3 separate regions of the Homo sapiens genome follow, and all the other regions are linked to region 1. Evidence: promoter capture Hi-C in 16 types of primary human blood cells and fetal thymus (Javierre and others, 2016). All regions are on one chromosome and are shown on one strand. Each heading gives the region's core, a stretch centred on a gene start or on the middle of the fragment in contact. The rest is flanking DNA. Distances are from core to core; before and after follow the strand shown.

Evidence for each region. The method cuts DNA at HindIII sites, captures the fragments that hold promoters and counts their contacts. A CHiCAGO score of 5 or more calls a contact.
Region 2: a fragment that was not itself captured here is called in contact with the fragment with the promoter of G0S2 in region 1 in 1 of 17 cell types (neutrophils); the score reaches 8.0 in neutrophils.
Region 3: a contact is called between a fragment that was not itself captured here and the fragment with the promoter of G0S2 in region 1, in 2 of 17 cell types (neutrophils and monocytes). The highest score is 12.7, in neutrophils.

The regions. Positions count from the first base shown.
Region 1 is chr1:209,672,545-209,677,348 of GRCh38, reverse strand. G0S2 (G0/G1 switch 2) reads right to left here and starts at 1,937. Exons shown (of 2, transcript NM_015714.4): 1 at 1,800-1,937; 2 at 959-1,696. The coding sequence starts at 1,664. The coding sequence ends at 1,353. The region is part of intron 1 of HSD11B1-AS1 (HSD11B1 antisense RNA 1); the gene reads left to right. RefSeq lists enhancers at 977-1,825, 4,106-4,345. The HindIII fragment of the contact is 4,554 bases long and covers 1-2,374 here.
Region 2 is chr1:209,839,753-209,844,556 of GRCh38, reverse strand. UTP25 (UTP25 small subunit processome component) reads right to left here. Exons shown (of 12, transcript NM_014388.7): 8 at 3,502-3,704; 9 at 2,110-2,292; 10 at 1,862-1,974; 11 at 861-1,106. Among named protein-coding and RNA genes, the nearest start is that of UTP25, 14 kb to the right of the region's middle. RefSeq lists an enhancer at 4,459-4,753. The HindIII fragment of the contact is 1,394 bases long and covers 1,465-2,858 here.
Region 3 is chr1:209,806,594-209,811,397 of GRCh38, reverse strand. No RefSeq gene overlaps it. Among named protein-coding and RNA genes, the nearest start is that of IRF6, 2.9 kb to the right of the region's middle. The HindIII fragment of the contact is 3,441 bases long and covers 732-4,172 here.

The sequences.
Region 1 (4,804 bases), core at 688-3,187:
TTTTGATCAGGGCCAGGAACACTTGGTAGGAATTGAGTTGGCAGAAATGAAATGGAGATGTGTGTAGGGCATTGGACGAAGGAGAGAGTCTGAGCAGAGGCAATGGTGTGAGCCAGTGATATGTTTGGCAAAAATGCATAGCTGTTGATGAAAGGAGTAAAGTGTCAGTACCTGATTAGGACAGGTGACATGAAAAATGTGAGGAGACTAGCATCAAGGCCATGCCTCTGGCTCCTGGCTACTTCTTTAAAGTTTAAAATTTGTTTTGCTGAGCCCTATAGAGTCACTGAATTAGCTATTACTACAGATGAAGCTCTGTACACTGGAGGAGGAGGACTCAGATATGTAACAACCGGTTTTTTTCTCTTTCTAGCCCAGAGTTTCTTACTATGATCTGGATTCGTGGGGAGGAAGGCTGGGTAGAGCTAGACTCATCATCTGCTTTGGTGTTCTTGGGAGCTTATCTCTTTTCCTGCCAGGTAGATAGTTTTTCCTTTCTTTCCTTCCCTTCACCTCCAGACCTCCCTCCTTCATTTTCTTTCCTTCTCTCTGTCTGTCTGTCTAAAATATAGTTGGGAAGAAAAAGGTATCAGCCATGGGAACCTCTGGTGCACAGGTGTAAGGAACAAAGAGCTTTTCTGCCTTAGAATTAATCAGTTATCTCCTACTCACTGTAGCTCAGAAGTTGATCTACCTTTTGATGTTAAAATGCTAAATCTCACGGAAGTTATAAAATTTTCTCTCTTCCCACCCCTAACAAGAAGGAAAAACAAGTCCTCAACAGACTTATATGCATGTAGTAACTTATTACACAGTTCCTAGGTGTGAAGCAAGTGTCTGACCCTCAGGAAGCTGCTCCCTCTGCAGTGCTCAGGTAAGAACCCATCACCATCGCCCACCTGCTCACCCTCCCTGCTTCCCACCCCAGGACACCACACCTCTCAGGAATTACATGAGATATGGTATAAAAAGTTTTTTTATTTCAAAATGCAAAATGGTGGTCATTGTAATAATTAATAATAATAACATAAAAAGCATTTATCCTTCCTCCCTAGTGCAAAATGGTAGACGCATTTAGATAATTCACACAGTGTTGGAAATGTCATGACAATGCAGTGCTGCACAGCAGCAAAACTCAATCCCAAACTCCTTTGGTGGATGCTTGTGGTAGGTCAGTTCTAGATGTCAGCGGTTTCTCTGAAGTTAAGTCCAAATAAAAAACAGCACGTGCTCCTGCACTCTCCCAGCGGAGTCAGGCTCCTGTGCGCGCGCCCCCTCTGTCTCTCCATTCCTCTCTCGGTCTGTCTCTGTCTACTGCGTCTCCCTCCCACTCCGCTGGTCTCCCACAGTTCCTAGGAGGCGTGCTGCCGGTTGGACAGGGCCCGGCCGCCGAGGACCGTGTCCTGCTGCTTGCCTTTCTCCTGCAGGGCTTGCTTCTGGAGAGCCTGTCGCTCCAGGGCGGCCTGCAGCTCCGCCACGGCTGCCTCCTGGTCCCGCAGACGTCTGGCGGCCGTGAAGGGGCTGCACACAGTCTCCATCAGGCCGAGCACCACGCCGAAGAGGGCCAGCACGCTGCCCAGCACGTACAGCTTCACCATCTTCCCCTTGCGCTTCTGGGCCATCATCTCCTTGGCCAGGGGGATCAGCTCCTGGACCGTTTCCATCTCGGCTCTGGGCTCTCGGAGGCGGGAATGACCTGCAGGAGGAGCAGCAGGAGAGGGGCTTCAGCCACCAAAGAACGGCTCCCACCACCCCGCACCCAGCTAATCTTGGGGAGGGCTCATAGAAAGGCGGACTACCTTAGTGGCACGGCGCGAGCAGGAGGCAGCGCGAGCTGCAGTTGGCAGCGGTCAGCGCGTCCGTTGGTCCGACCGACCTCAGCGTTCTCCTCCTCTCGGCAGCTGCAGCTCTCCCAGTTGGAGACTCCGCCGCTGGCACCGCTTTAGCGTCCGGGGGCCGCTTATATCTTTTCTCTGAGACACGCCTCCTGGGCTCTCCGGCCCAGGCCAGCGCGGTCAGAGCCAGGGGAACTCGGAGGGGGAGGAAGAAGAGGAGGGGAAAAGGAGGGGGTGGAACCCGGCTGGGACCTGGCAGGAGGTGGCCACGCGCTGAGCACGCTCCGACTGTGTGAGCTAGGGGGCCCGGCGCGGGTGCCATCGCAGCGGGGCGCGTGGGAAGGCCAGTGTGCACGCGAAGGTCCCACTCCAGGCGAGCGCAGGGGAGGACCCGGAGCCCAGGGAGGTGTCCGCGGACATCTCTGACATGGCGGCAACCTTCTTACTGGTGTCAGCGGGTGCACAGCTTCCCTTGTCCAGGACAGCCTGACATTATAAATAATGAGGGAATTTGGGGGTTCCATCTAAAGAAGAAAGCTTTCATTTTTATTCGGAAGGGTTGTCACCTTCCCACGTGTGTGGCAATGGATCAGAGAGGAGAAGGCAAGGGGGAAGGATCTGGGTAACAGGACAGAACAGGTTACGCTTGGATAAAGCAATATGTGCTAATATTGTTTCTTTCCTGCCTGGTTGGTTTTATTTAGAGGTACATGCATGTATAACTAGAGTCAGTTGATAGAAAACTATTCATTGATGGTGCTTTTATGCACAGAGGTGTGTGTGTGTGTGTGTGTGTGTGTGTGAGAGAGAGAGAGAGAGAGAGAGAGAGAGAGAAAGAGAGAGAGATTAGTCTCTTTGCCTGCGAGCTGTTTCCTTATGTACTTCCGTGTATCAGGGAAGAGCCTTCAAATTCAAATTGTTCTCACTTCCACTTGAGAAGTGGAGTTGGGAGCTTGGGGGTAGGGGGTCAAGTATGGAAGGGGCTGTTGGTAGAAGTTCATCTGCCATTTTAGAATGGAAGTATTTCATGCTCTCCTCAATAATTCTCTGCCACCCTCCTGGGTTTGGGGGTACAACTTCACTGCTCCAGCTCAACTTCAGCTTTGAAGCAGTTTGTGGGCAGAAGGGCGTGTAGTAGACAGCTTAGGTAAGAATCCAGAGTGTGAGTACTCTTGGACGTGTGAAGATGTAGGATTGATTTTGACCAGGGTTAGCTGTAATCACCTGGGGCTGAGGGAGCGTTCTAGTTTGGCTTTGGTTATGGATATGCTAGAGTTAGCAAACTTGGGGAAAAAGAGAGGCAAATTGGCCAAAGGGTTAGCAAACTTGGGGAAAAGGAGAGGCAAATTGGCCAAAGGCCTTTAAGCAGAGAAAGGGAGGGGGCAGGGGAAAGAAGGGGAAATCAAACTGGCCAGAAAATTGCAAAGGTCAGTGATGCAATCTTGCAACAGCCTTTGCAGTCGGTCGGACTGAGCCCTGAAGGGCGGGTCGGGGGAAAAGGCTGTCTCAGGGATCAAATATTTTAGTTTTTGAATTGTTAACAGTAATCTTTCTTTGGGGGTCTGAAGCAATTTCTCAGATGATTCAGTTTAAAAAGGCAGCAATAACAACTACCCTTTGCCTTGACTATTAATAGTTCAGGCAAGGGCTTGTGTGTGGAGAATGGTCAAGGTTATCTAAATAGCTTATTTGAAATTCTATGTTTTAGAATTTAGTCTGAGTGAAGGTGACCAGGGGCCAAATAGAATTGATTATTCCTGGAGGACTGTGTTTCCTGCTTATTGTTCTTTTAACCTTGTCAGGCAGGAAAATTCTGTAACAAGGGTTCCTGCCAAGTTTAATATCAGTCTTGGCATTTTCTTTGAATCTTCCTTATAGTTTCAGAGCAACCTCTGATAACTGGCAGAAATGATTAGTGAGCTTTCCCAATATCTGTGAGGGTTCCAAACCCATTGACTTCTGGAAGAGCATGTGATGTGTGCCCTGATATAAGGGCTGTCACGTGGTTTCCATTCTGAAGGTGAGTCAGCCTAGCTTGGGACCCAAAATTCTGAAATTGACTGGTCCAGTAAGCATTTCCTGTGTTTCTGTAACTCAGAGACGCAAACCACACGTCTTCCTAGGTCAGAAGGCTGTAATTTACCTGGGGTTCCCCTTTCCTGTGATTTGCTGTGTTAGTGCACATCACCAGCTCAGTTCCTTTTTTTGATAATTTGACTTTGACCTCCAGGTTCCAGCAGCTATATTGGTAAGAGCTGGACAGAGGAGGGGCAGCAAGTGCCATGGACGGAGGTCACTGGTAGACTTGATCTTCCTAGTTTAGGTGGTAGCTGGGGCTGAGCAGGAGATGATGGGAGTAGAAGGCTAAGGAATCCAGTGTTAACTCATGTCTAGGAATTTCTGAGTGCAGCTCCTCTGTCTGGGTGGGAAAAGAGAACCTGGCTCCTAGGGTAGAAGGTGACTAGGTAGGGCTTGGAAACTAAACATATATTTTAGTGGGGCTGATGTCATTTTTAGGGAAGTAAAGCACTGTGTTGTGTCATGCATGCAGGTAAGATACAGGTTATAGCGATGATGGTCAAACCAAGCCATAGGGTGACCAACCATCTTATTTTGCTCAGGGTTGAGGGGTTCTCTGAAATGCAGGACTCCTGCTAAAACTGAGCACTAAAACTGAGATACTTCCAGGCAAACTGAAACACTTCCAGGCAAACTGAAATAGTCATCCTACCCTTGAGTCTATCTCAACATTTAACTCTTGCCACTTCTAGGAAGGTAGGAAGGACTAGTTTAAAATTTTTATATTTTGCTTTCTAAATCCCTTTCTCTCAGACATTAAGACATTCAGAGCCATCTGCAGAGGGTAAAGTCACAAAGGGGTGCATGTGTTTCAAGGGTTAAGTGCAGAGGAGGGATAGAACTGTCCCTACCCCTCTGCCTTGGGGATTGAAGACACAGGGGAAAGAGGT
Region 2 (4,804 bases), core at 912-3,411, 170 kb before region 1:
GGGTTCAAGCTATTCTCCTGCCTCAGCCTCCCGAGTAGCTGGGATTATAGGCACACACCACCACGCTCAACTAATTTTTTATATTTTTAGTAGAAACGGGGTTTCACCATGTTAGCCGGGATGGTCTTGAACTCCTGACCACAGGTGATTCGCCTGCCTTGGCCTCCCAAAGTGCTGGGATTACAGGTGTGAGCCACTGCACCTGGCCTGAGTTTTTAAAAAAATAACATGAAGACCAATCAACTTATTTTGTCAAAGTCACCTGGTAGGAAATCTAAGCAAACGCTGAAACCCTTCAACATTCAACTTGAAGCCCTTACCCTTTTACCTCCTGCAAATGTCAAGGAGCCCACGGTCCTAGTTCTCCTTGGTAGGGAGTATCTGTGCATACCTCAGGAACACCGCAACTGTCTGGAAACTGACACTGTACTCAGCCTCCATCTCCCCAGAAAACACAGTTCTCAATGCTTTTGTCTGTGCACTGAGGGCAAACAGAGGGAAAAAGTCTAGACAGGGACAACTCAAGTGAATACAGGGAAGGTCCCTCCCCTTCCTTGTATTCATTTGAGTTGTCCTGTAATGTCCTTCTTGCAGTGTATAACCACAGCTACATGCCAGGTCTATAGACAGGGTATGCTTTGGTTTCTACATCCTTCTTCAGCAATGCCCATTTTGGGAGAAAACCAACTAACCAACCAAGAAGAGTCTGTCCAAACCAAAAACTCTCTGGCTACTTTGTAAGAGTGCGAGAGTGAGGGATGATCTCAACACCACGAAGCCTGCCATGCATTCAGAGCAGGCCATGATTTGTCCTGCACCTCCCCTTCAGAGAGGAGGCTTGAAACCTGGCACCACTTTACCTTTTGTAGAAATGGAAGCGCTCTGTGAAAAGTAGAAACTGTTTCTCTCCTTGAAGGAAGAAGTGTCTGGCCCTGGAGACACCAGACTTCTGCGTGTACTCGCAGATGTGGGTAAAATTCAATTCCTCCTTCTTGAAGTAATTTCGAAGACGCACGAAGTCAAAGTAGGAGGGGATATAGATGAGCGTGTGAGACATGACTGCATCACGATACTGTGGCAAAATCTTGTTCACAAAAAAGTTAAACCTGATTTGGAATGGCAAAGGGCAAAATTAATGTCTAGAGCTAAGCTTATGGTGTCTCTTAACTGTGTGACCCTGAGCAAATTACAATCTCGTGTTAAAAGATTACCTCCCCAGAGGCCAATATGATTTACCTCCTCTCAAAGAGATTATGTAAGGATAAAACTTGATAAGCACACTAAAAAAATAAGTGTCAACACTATTCATTGTAAAAAACAGATGTAATACCATTATATCCCAGAGAATTACTCTAGGAAGTACACACCACACTATTCAGTCAGTCAGTCAGTCACTCAGTCACTCAGTCCAACAGTCAACAAATAATCACTGAACATCTACCATATACTAAGCCTCACTAAGCTTCTTTGGGGTCCCCTAACTAAACACAATGAAGAAAAAGGGGGAAATTATACAATTAGAAAAATAGTTCTTTCCCTGAGGGGCTTACAATTAACTTGCTGACATGAGACACTTTGTAGCATAAAGCTGTATAATTTTAAAATGCCACAGTCAAGAGTGAAAGAGTCCTGATTTATAGTAATAACCCTGCTACTAACTAGTTATGAGACCTAGGCCAAAGTCACTATTTCTCTCTGTGCTTCAGTTTCCTCCTCTGACAAATGACATAATTAAGTTCAATTATCTCAACTGATTTGGTAGTTATCAATAAAAGCAAAATGGAATCCAATTCTAGGTTTGTATGCCCAAGTCAAATCTCTCTATGTGGTCCCCAGGGGCCTGCTGGGAGGAGTGGGTTACCTGGCATCAATCACTGAAGCTAGGTTTTCAGCTTCCATCCTCTGGAAGACATGTGGGAGCTGCACCAGGACATGACTGATAGAGCCTGTCATTGGGACATTCCTCACGGCCACCTGCCAGTAGTCAACAAGAGCGTTAGGTGGACAGCCATCCCCTTCTTGACCAGAAGCTATCGCCTCCTTCTACCTCAGGACCCAAACAATAAACAGTGCTCATGAAGATACTGAGGAAACAAGACGAGAACCCACCTGGCCTTGCATGTTGACACAGTACTTGTTGAACACTGAGTTGATCTGGGCATCCTGAAGGGCCCCAAATAGCAGTGTCTGGCGATAGTACTTGGACCAATTATTGAGGCTCCACATCCGCACTCGAGAAAAGTCTACCCCATGTGAGTCCAGGGGTAGTAGGTTCATGTGATTCATCAAATGCTTTGAGTGGAAATAATATTACCATTAGTGTTGACTGAGAGCATTTACATGTTGGACATTGCTAAACATTTTCCGAGTCTATCAACTCATGTACTATCATCTCCTAAATTATAACAAGAAAACTGAGGCTCACATGGGTGAGTGACTTGCCCATGGTCAGCCAAACATCCCCAATGAGGAGATAAGCTAAAACTGGCCCTCCTGGAATTTTAACAAATGATCAAAATGGTACCTACAGGAATGTTCCTTTAAAATGAACTTCTGAAATGCCACACTGGTCTCTCTATGGGTCCCTAAGTCCCAGACTTGGACAAGAAGGGAAATGCCATGGAAAACAGAGCTGCTGTCCCTCAATTACCTGGTTCTCAAAACATTAGGAATAGTTGCAGTGTCACCCTGTCTTTTCCTCAAATCTAAGAATATAACTCGACTATGCCAAATGCCTTTTCCATTTTAATTATATTTTTACCTTGTAATAGATATTGAAGGGTAATGAGTACAATAAATTTATTTCCTACTTTAGAAGTAAGTTCTACCCTTCATTTGTCCCAAACTTCCTGCAAGCTTCAAGACATGGGGTTGTAGAAGGGGTGAGTTCCCATATGCCTTAGAAAAATAAACCTATAGTTCCTAAATAAGGATTGTTCCAAAGCAGTTTTTCAGTCCTAAAACTGATAACACTGCAGAGTGTGTGGAGAAGGAGAAAAAAATTACAGTACAAATTACATCGGGTAATAAAGACATCCTATATTTCTCTACAAAACAAGATCCCACCTTAAAAAATCTTGAGCAGGGTATTCCCATCTTCACCAAAGACCAAACAAAACAGCATAAGCAAAAACCACATGTGGGATTATGTTAGGTAAAGATGTTCCTGGTGAGGACCCATCCATCCATCAACCTATCCCATCCACCCATCCACCCACCCTAAAGTTAGTAGAAAGAAATTTTAAGGGAAAGAAATCTTTTCTGGAGATTTGAAAATGACTGACAGGAATTTTAATCTGTAGACAGTTTAATTATGGACAATCTCTGGGTAGAAAAGGGGACAAAAGACTTTTTCAAATTAGAAAATGTGGAGTGTGTGTCCTTGCTTCCAAACAAGAGTTCTAATCTGGACTTAAATAATTCTTTAGGACTTAAACCACTGGGTGTCTTATCCCTCTAAATATGAATACTGTCCCACTGAATGTGAATGGCCAGCATTACCAGGACATGCTCCCAGTTCTGCATCAGGTAAATGTCAGCTTGATCAATGATGAGAAGCTCGATAGAAGACAGAAAGTCAAAATCTCTCTTCTTCTCTCCTTCTCCACCAATGATGGTCCTCAAGCCCAGGGGGGAAGCAATGAGGATATCCGAGGAGTAAAACGGGGCATAGAGTCGGATGCTTCTCTGAAGTATTGCCACTCCTACACAAAACAGCCAAGTACACACCAATTCATTAGTCACTACCAAGCCATTACCTTCCACCCTCTCAAAGCAGTCCACCACTTCTATTGCTTCCACATCTCTTTTGTTCCTCTTAGCATGTAACTGTGCTCAACTGCTTTAATTATTAAAACATAAGAACAAGAGAAATCTCTCCCTTGCATCTATAGTCCCTTCTAGCTTCTACCTTCTCTTCCTTTCCGTCACTATCAAACTGCTCCAGAGAATTCTCTCTACTTTCAAATCTCTCCTTCACTTCTCACTCCACTGCAATCCGGCCTCTGATTCTCAGGACTCCAGAGAAATGACTCTTGCTAAGGTCCCCACAGTCCTCAGTCACCAACAGGATGAACACTTTTGAGAGCTTCTTATGAGGAAAGTACAAACGGCACAGAATGTACTAACAGCTGCCTTGCAATGCTCTTTTCCTTGCTAATAGTTTCCATGACTTCAACTCTCACTTTTGCTTCTATCACTGACCTGGCCCTTGTCTGTCCTTCCAGATCCAAATAACTCTTCTGCAAACTGGTGGATTCACTTGTCAGCTCTGCTCTCGTGCTGCATAAAGCTTTGGGTTAACTGACTCACTGATCATGGCTTTAATGTCACCTTCACACAAATGTGTATTTCCAGCCCATATCTTTTTCCTGAGCTCCAGAACAATATACCAACTGCTTCCTGGACAGCTATATATGTTCCAAACAAAACACGAGCTCTTGTCTCCTTATGCCTTACATTCCACCATACCGAAGCCTGTGTGAATCATAGGTCATTCCAAGCTTAGTCACCCTGATGCCTCTGCAACAGGCAGTTTCCTGTCTGAAATGTTTTCCTCCACTCAGCCACCTCCCTTTGAAACTGGCTGAATCCTACACAGGTTTCCACCTAGTACAGATGACACCTCCACCACGACATCTTCCCTAACCACCCTGCCCCCATTTTGGGTAAGGGGGTTTGCTTTAAATGCTCCGAGAACAACCGTTGCACACATATCCTGCACTGCCTGCTCTGTCGTAGGCTGGATTTCCTTAGCAATGGGAACTATAACTTTTATTTCTATATTTATCTGTAGATTCCCAGC
Region 3 (4,804 bases), core at 1,203-3,702, 130 kb before region 1:
AATCATCAGCCCCCACACACATCCTATTTTTGTTGAAATAATATTTTGTCTCCTATTATTTTTGTTGAGCTCTCTCATCCATTCTTATCTCGACTCTCATGCTTTTTGTCATCTCTTAACCTTATAGATTAATATGTTTTAAAAAAATTCCTTCACTGTCATTGATCACCTGAGGTGATCTGGGGTGGTGGGGGGTGGGAGAAGAGAAAAGCACATTTGGTTAATCACTCATATTGAACAGGAATCCAGCTTCTTGCCACACTGCTCCCCGAAGATTCTGTACTCCTGGAGTCTTCATTTTCTGAAATCGACACATTGTCCAGTGCTCTGTAGCTCAAACTGAGCCTAACACTCTGCTAGTTCCTGTCTGGCCTGCACCTTGCTGCCCTTAGGGCTTGACTGAAGCCTGGAGAGAATTATCTACACAAAGGAAACAAAGAGCAGATAACAGCAGTGATGGTCGCTCCATCTGCACAGCACTCCACCTGTTTCAGAGAGCGTCCATATCCACTATCTCATTTCAAAGCAGCATAGAGTCACAGGATAGGTTGTTTGGTGCTGACCATGAAGCCAAAATCCGGCCACTGTTTTGTCTCAATGGGGAAGCAGCTTTGAATCAGAACTCTGAACTCTCACATTCATGGTGGTTGTAGTTTCTTCAGCTCTTTTGTCTGCAGAGCCAATGAGAAAGCTCTCCATGCTGGGGAAGATGGGAAGTGGACCCTCAAGCTTTGGAATGAATGGGCAGAAGAATGAAGGGAGGGCCCCAAGGGGGAGCTTACTTCCAAATAATTTCCTGGGCTTTGCTTTTCCTCCTTCGCCTCCCATAGAGATCCAAGTTTGGAATAAAAAAAACTGCTTCTTTGAGAACACTTTCCAGTGCTCAGCTTGCTTCAAGGATAAAAAGGGTCTTCTAACTATGGAAAGACTCAGAAGATGTTCTGAACACTTTGGTGGAGAATTCTTCTAGAGTCCAAAGCCAAAGTCTGTGCCATTGCTTGGATTGGAAAGTGAGATTCTTTTATGCTTCCTGCCATCTTGGTGATTCTAGAATTTGGAGGCCATTATAGAGTGCAACAACCAGAGTGCATTCAGTTTAGGCTGTGGCTTAGGCAATGTGTTAGGATCACCTGTGGCCCTGATGCTTTAAGATACTTGGATGGAGACAGAGATAAGCCAGGGCCAAGAGAAAAGTGAGGGTAGACCTGATGGGCTCCAGAATGCCTTCCAGAAGGAAGGTTGGAGTCTGATTTCCTTTGAAAGCACAGAATTGGATTGTTTAGTGCAATGTCCCTACCTGACTCTTTAGCAACTCCACCAAAGGTGCACAGCTTCTTTGCTATCACCAACTCCAGTAACACTAAACTCTCCACTGTATGGAGCCTTTGGGAGGAGTCCCAGTTGCCACGCTTTCTGCTCTGCCAAGAAGAGAGTGGGATTTGGGTTCATGGTTTTATTGTCACATGTCTGATATTGTAGAGTTTAAAGTCTCTGGGTGGAAAAAGAAACTCTTTCCTACCAAATGAGAGCTGACTGGGAACAGGAGAGGGGAATTCCCTCATTCCCTGTGGCTGTGAATCAGGGCCCCCGTGCTGAAATGTACGTCCCACTACCTGAAACTCAGACTCACTAGTGAGTCAGCAATGCCGCACCTGATTATCAATGGAGGGCAAAATGATGGGAGCATTGCAGGCCCAGGGCATGTTGGGAATGACTGAATCCTGAAGAGGCTCTTTTGAGAATACAGAAGAACTGATTCCTCAAGAGCTTGTGGAAAGACTCACAAGATGTTCTTATTCCCCAGATCAAGCAGATGAGGCGTGTATCAGAATAGAAGACATCAGGGTGGCCTATTGTCAGGGCTTGTTGCCTGCAGAGCCGGGGAGTTCCTCCTGATCTCTACCTTAATTCCACCTGCTTTACCCCCTTTCATTAATTCTTCAGTTGAGTGACATGAGAGTAGGGACTTGGTTTTGTTTATGGCAATATCAACAATATCAACAGTACCTAGATCCATGGGTGATTTTTTTTTTTTTTTTTTTTGAGATGGAGTTTCCCTCTTGTTGCTCAGGCTGGAGTGCAATTGTGCAATCTCGGCTCACCGCAACCTCCACTTCCTGGGTTCAGGCAATTCTCCTGCCTCAGCCTCCCGAGTAGCTGGGATTACAGGCATGCGCCACCAAGCCTGGCTAATTTTGTATTTTTAGTAGAGTTGACCATATTGGTCGGTCCGGTCTCCAGCTCCTGACCTCAGGTGATCTGCCCGCCTCAGCCTCTCAAAGTGCTGGGATTACAGGTGTGAGCGATTGCACCTGGCGATTTTTTTTTTTAAATCGTTAACAGCCAGTGCAGAACAGGTCAGAATAGACTTTGGCTGCGGAGCTGAGCAGGGGTCCAAGTGGATAGAGCCCCGGGTTTGTGTTCTAGTCTTGGTTTGTGGCTAATATGCCATGTGACCTTGAGTAAATCACTTGACCTCGCTGGGCCGCAGTTTTCTCATCTATGAAAAGGGAGAATTTAGACTAGAAGTTGCAATCAGATGCCTACAGGGTCAGGCAATTAAAGTAAATTAGTGAGCTCAATAGAGTGAGTTTGTATTGGCTGTAACGTGTAGACTCCCTCTAAATGGGCAACTGTTGCCAGGTAGAACTGCTGGTAGAGCATCCAGGGCACTTGACTCTTTAAGAGATGCTGAGAATTTTGATGTTTATGTGATACCTCCTGATATTTAAAATACTGTGTGGGTAAAAACTGGCTAAGTCAGTTTTAGTCTTGATCTAGATAGTCCAGAAGAACCCTCCCAGCTTGAGTTTTCTGATTCCAAAATATATGTCTTCTAAAGAAGGTCCTTAAGACATCCCCTTAGTCATGGGAATTTCAGCTGGTGCAAAAGTGAGTGCCTGTGTGTGGGCTCATACTTGTATGCCACTGGGGTTTTGACTCCCCTCAAATGACACTCTCCCAATGGCCTTACCCCTCATCCCTCTCATACACCTGCAGTGGAGCTTGTTTGGTCCCCAGAGCCCAGCCCTGGGCCAGATGGAAGATGCTGTTTGTCTAGTGAGCTCATCAGCAGTAAACAGCTAGCTGTGCTGATGAGCTTGCCCTTCCCCCAGTGAAGGGAAGAGTGGCCACAGGGCAGTGGTTGAGACAGAGGCTGGCTGAGTCAGGCCTTGGGGCCTTGCTGCCTTCCCAGGCCTTTGCTGGCTACATTCCAAAGCTAAATTGGGACTTGGAATCATGCCTACATTATTATCAATCTGGGGCTCTTCAACACACTTGTATGAGTATGCTAGGGCTACCATAACAATGTACCTCAGAGTGGGTGGCTTGAACAACAGAAATTTTTTGTTTCATAGTTCTGGAGTTTAAAAGTCTAAAATCAAGGGTCTGAGGGATGTGAAAAAAAAAAAAAAAAAAAGAGCTCTATTCCAGGTATCTCTCCTTGGGTTGCAGCTAGCTGTCTTCTCTTTATGTCTCTTCATATCACCTTCCCTCTGTGGGTATCTGCCTCTGTGTCCAAATCTCCTCCTTTTATAAGGACACCATTCATATTGGATTCAGGCTCACCCTAATAACCACGTTTTAACTTGATTACCTCCATAAGGATCCTGTCTCCCAATAAGGTCATATTCTGACATCTGGCTGTGGTTGCAGTGGGGGTGGTCAGGACTTCAAAATACAAATACAAATTTTTTTGTATGTGGGTGACAGTTCAACTCATTGTACCACTCCTCCACAGTTTCTCACTCATTACTTTAAACACCAAAACCTAAGTGACCTGCGCATGCCCCATTTCACCTACGACAGCTCAGTGGTTGAGGGTGGGGGATTTTTAAAAGTCTCATTTACTGTTGCACAGCCTCCTGCAAACCGGTCCTCTAGATAGATGAGGAAGGTGAGGGCAATCTCATCAAGCACCTGTTAGGGTACATGCAGGACTTGAATTTCAGGTAATAACAAGGAATGCCTTCTTGTTCTCTGACGCACTGTCTATATGGTATTTTTAATCTTTATGCCAATAATAATTGCAAGTACATATAAAGCACTTGATAAGTGCTAAATATTGTTGCAAGCAGTTTACATGTAGTTATTGAATTCCCACAATACCCCTGAGGTAGGTACTATTACTAACCTCTTTCTACAGATAAGACACCAGGGCCTAAAAAGCTTAAGAAACTTTCCCAAGTCTGTAGTAACTGATGGAGTTGGGGTCTAAACCCCAATAGTTGGCTCCAGAGGCTATGCTTTTACTCATTACACGATAGTGATCAGAGGAAGCAGGAACTCCAGTCTGGGCAACATAGTCAGACCCTGTCTCTAAAAAAAAAAAAAAAAAATTAGCCGGGCATGGTGACCCATGCCTATATTTCCAGTTACTTGGGAGGGTGAGGTGGGATAATTGCTTGAGCCCAGGAGGTTGAGCTATGATTGTGCCACTGCATTCTAGCCTGGATGACAGAGCCAGACCCTGCCTAAAAAAAAAAAAAAAAAAAAAAAAAGGAATTGAACTGGGTGCCAGTGCCTGTAATCCCAGCACTTTGCGAGGCTGAGGCGGATCCCTTGAGCCCAGGTGTTGCAGACCAGACTGTGTAACTTAATAGCAAGACCCCATCTCCAAAAAAAAAAAAAAAAAAAAAGGAAGAAAAAAGAAAGAGAAAAAAGCAAACAACAACAAAAAAGAAGGAAGGAATTATTATTCTCATTGAAGAGATGAGGAAACTGAAACCAAGAAGCCAAGAAGCTAAGTAACTTACCCAGGGTCACACGGGTAAGAGGCAGAGTAAAGGTAGAATTCTAGTCC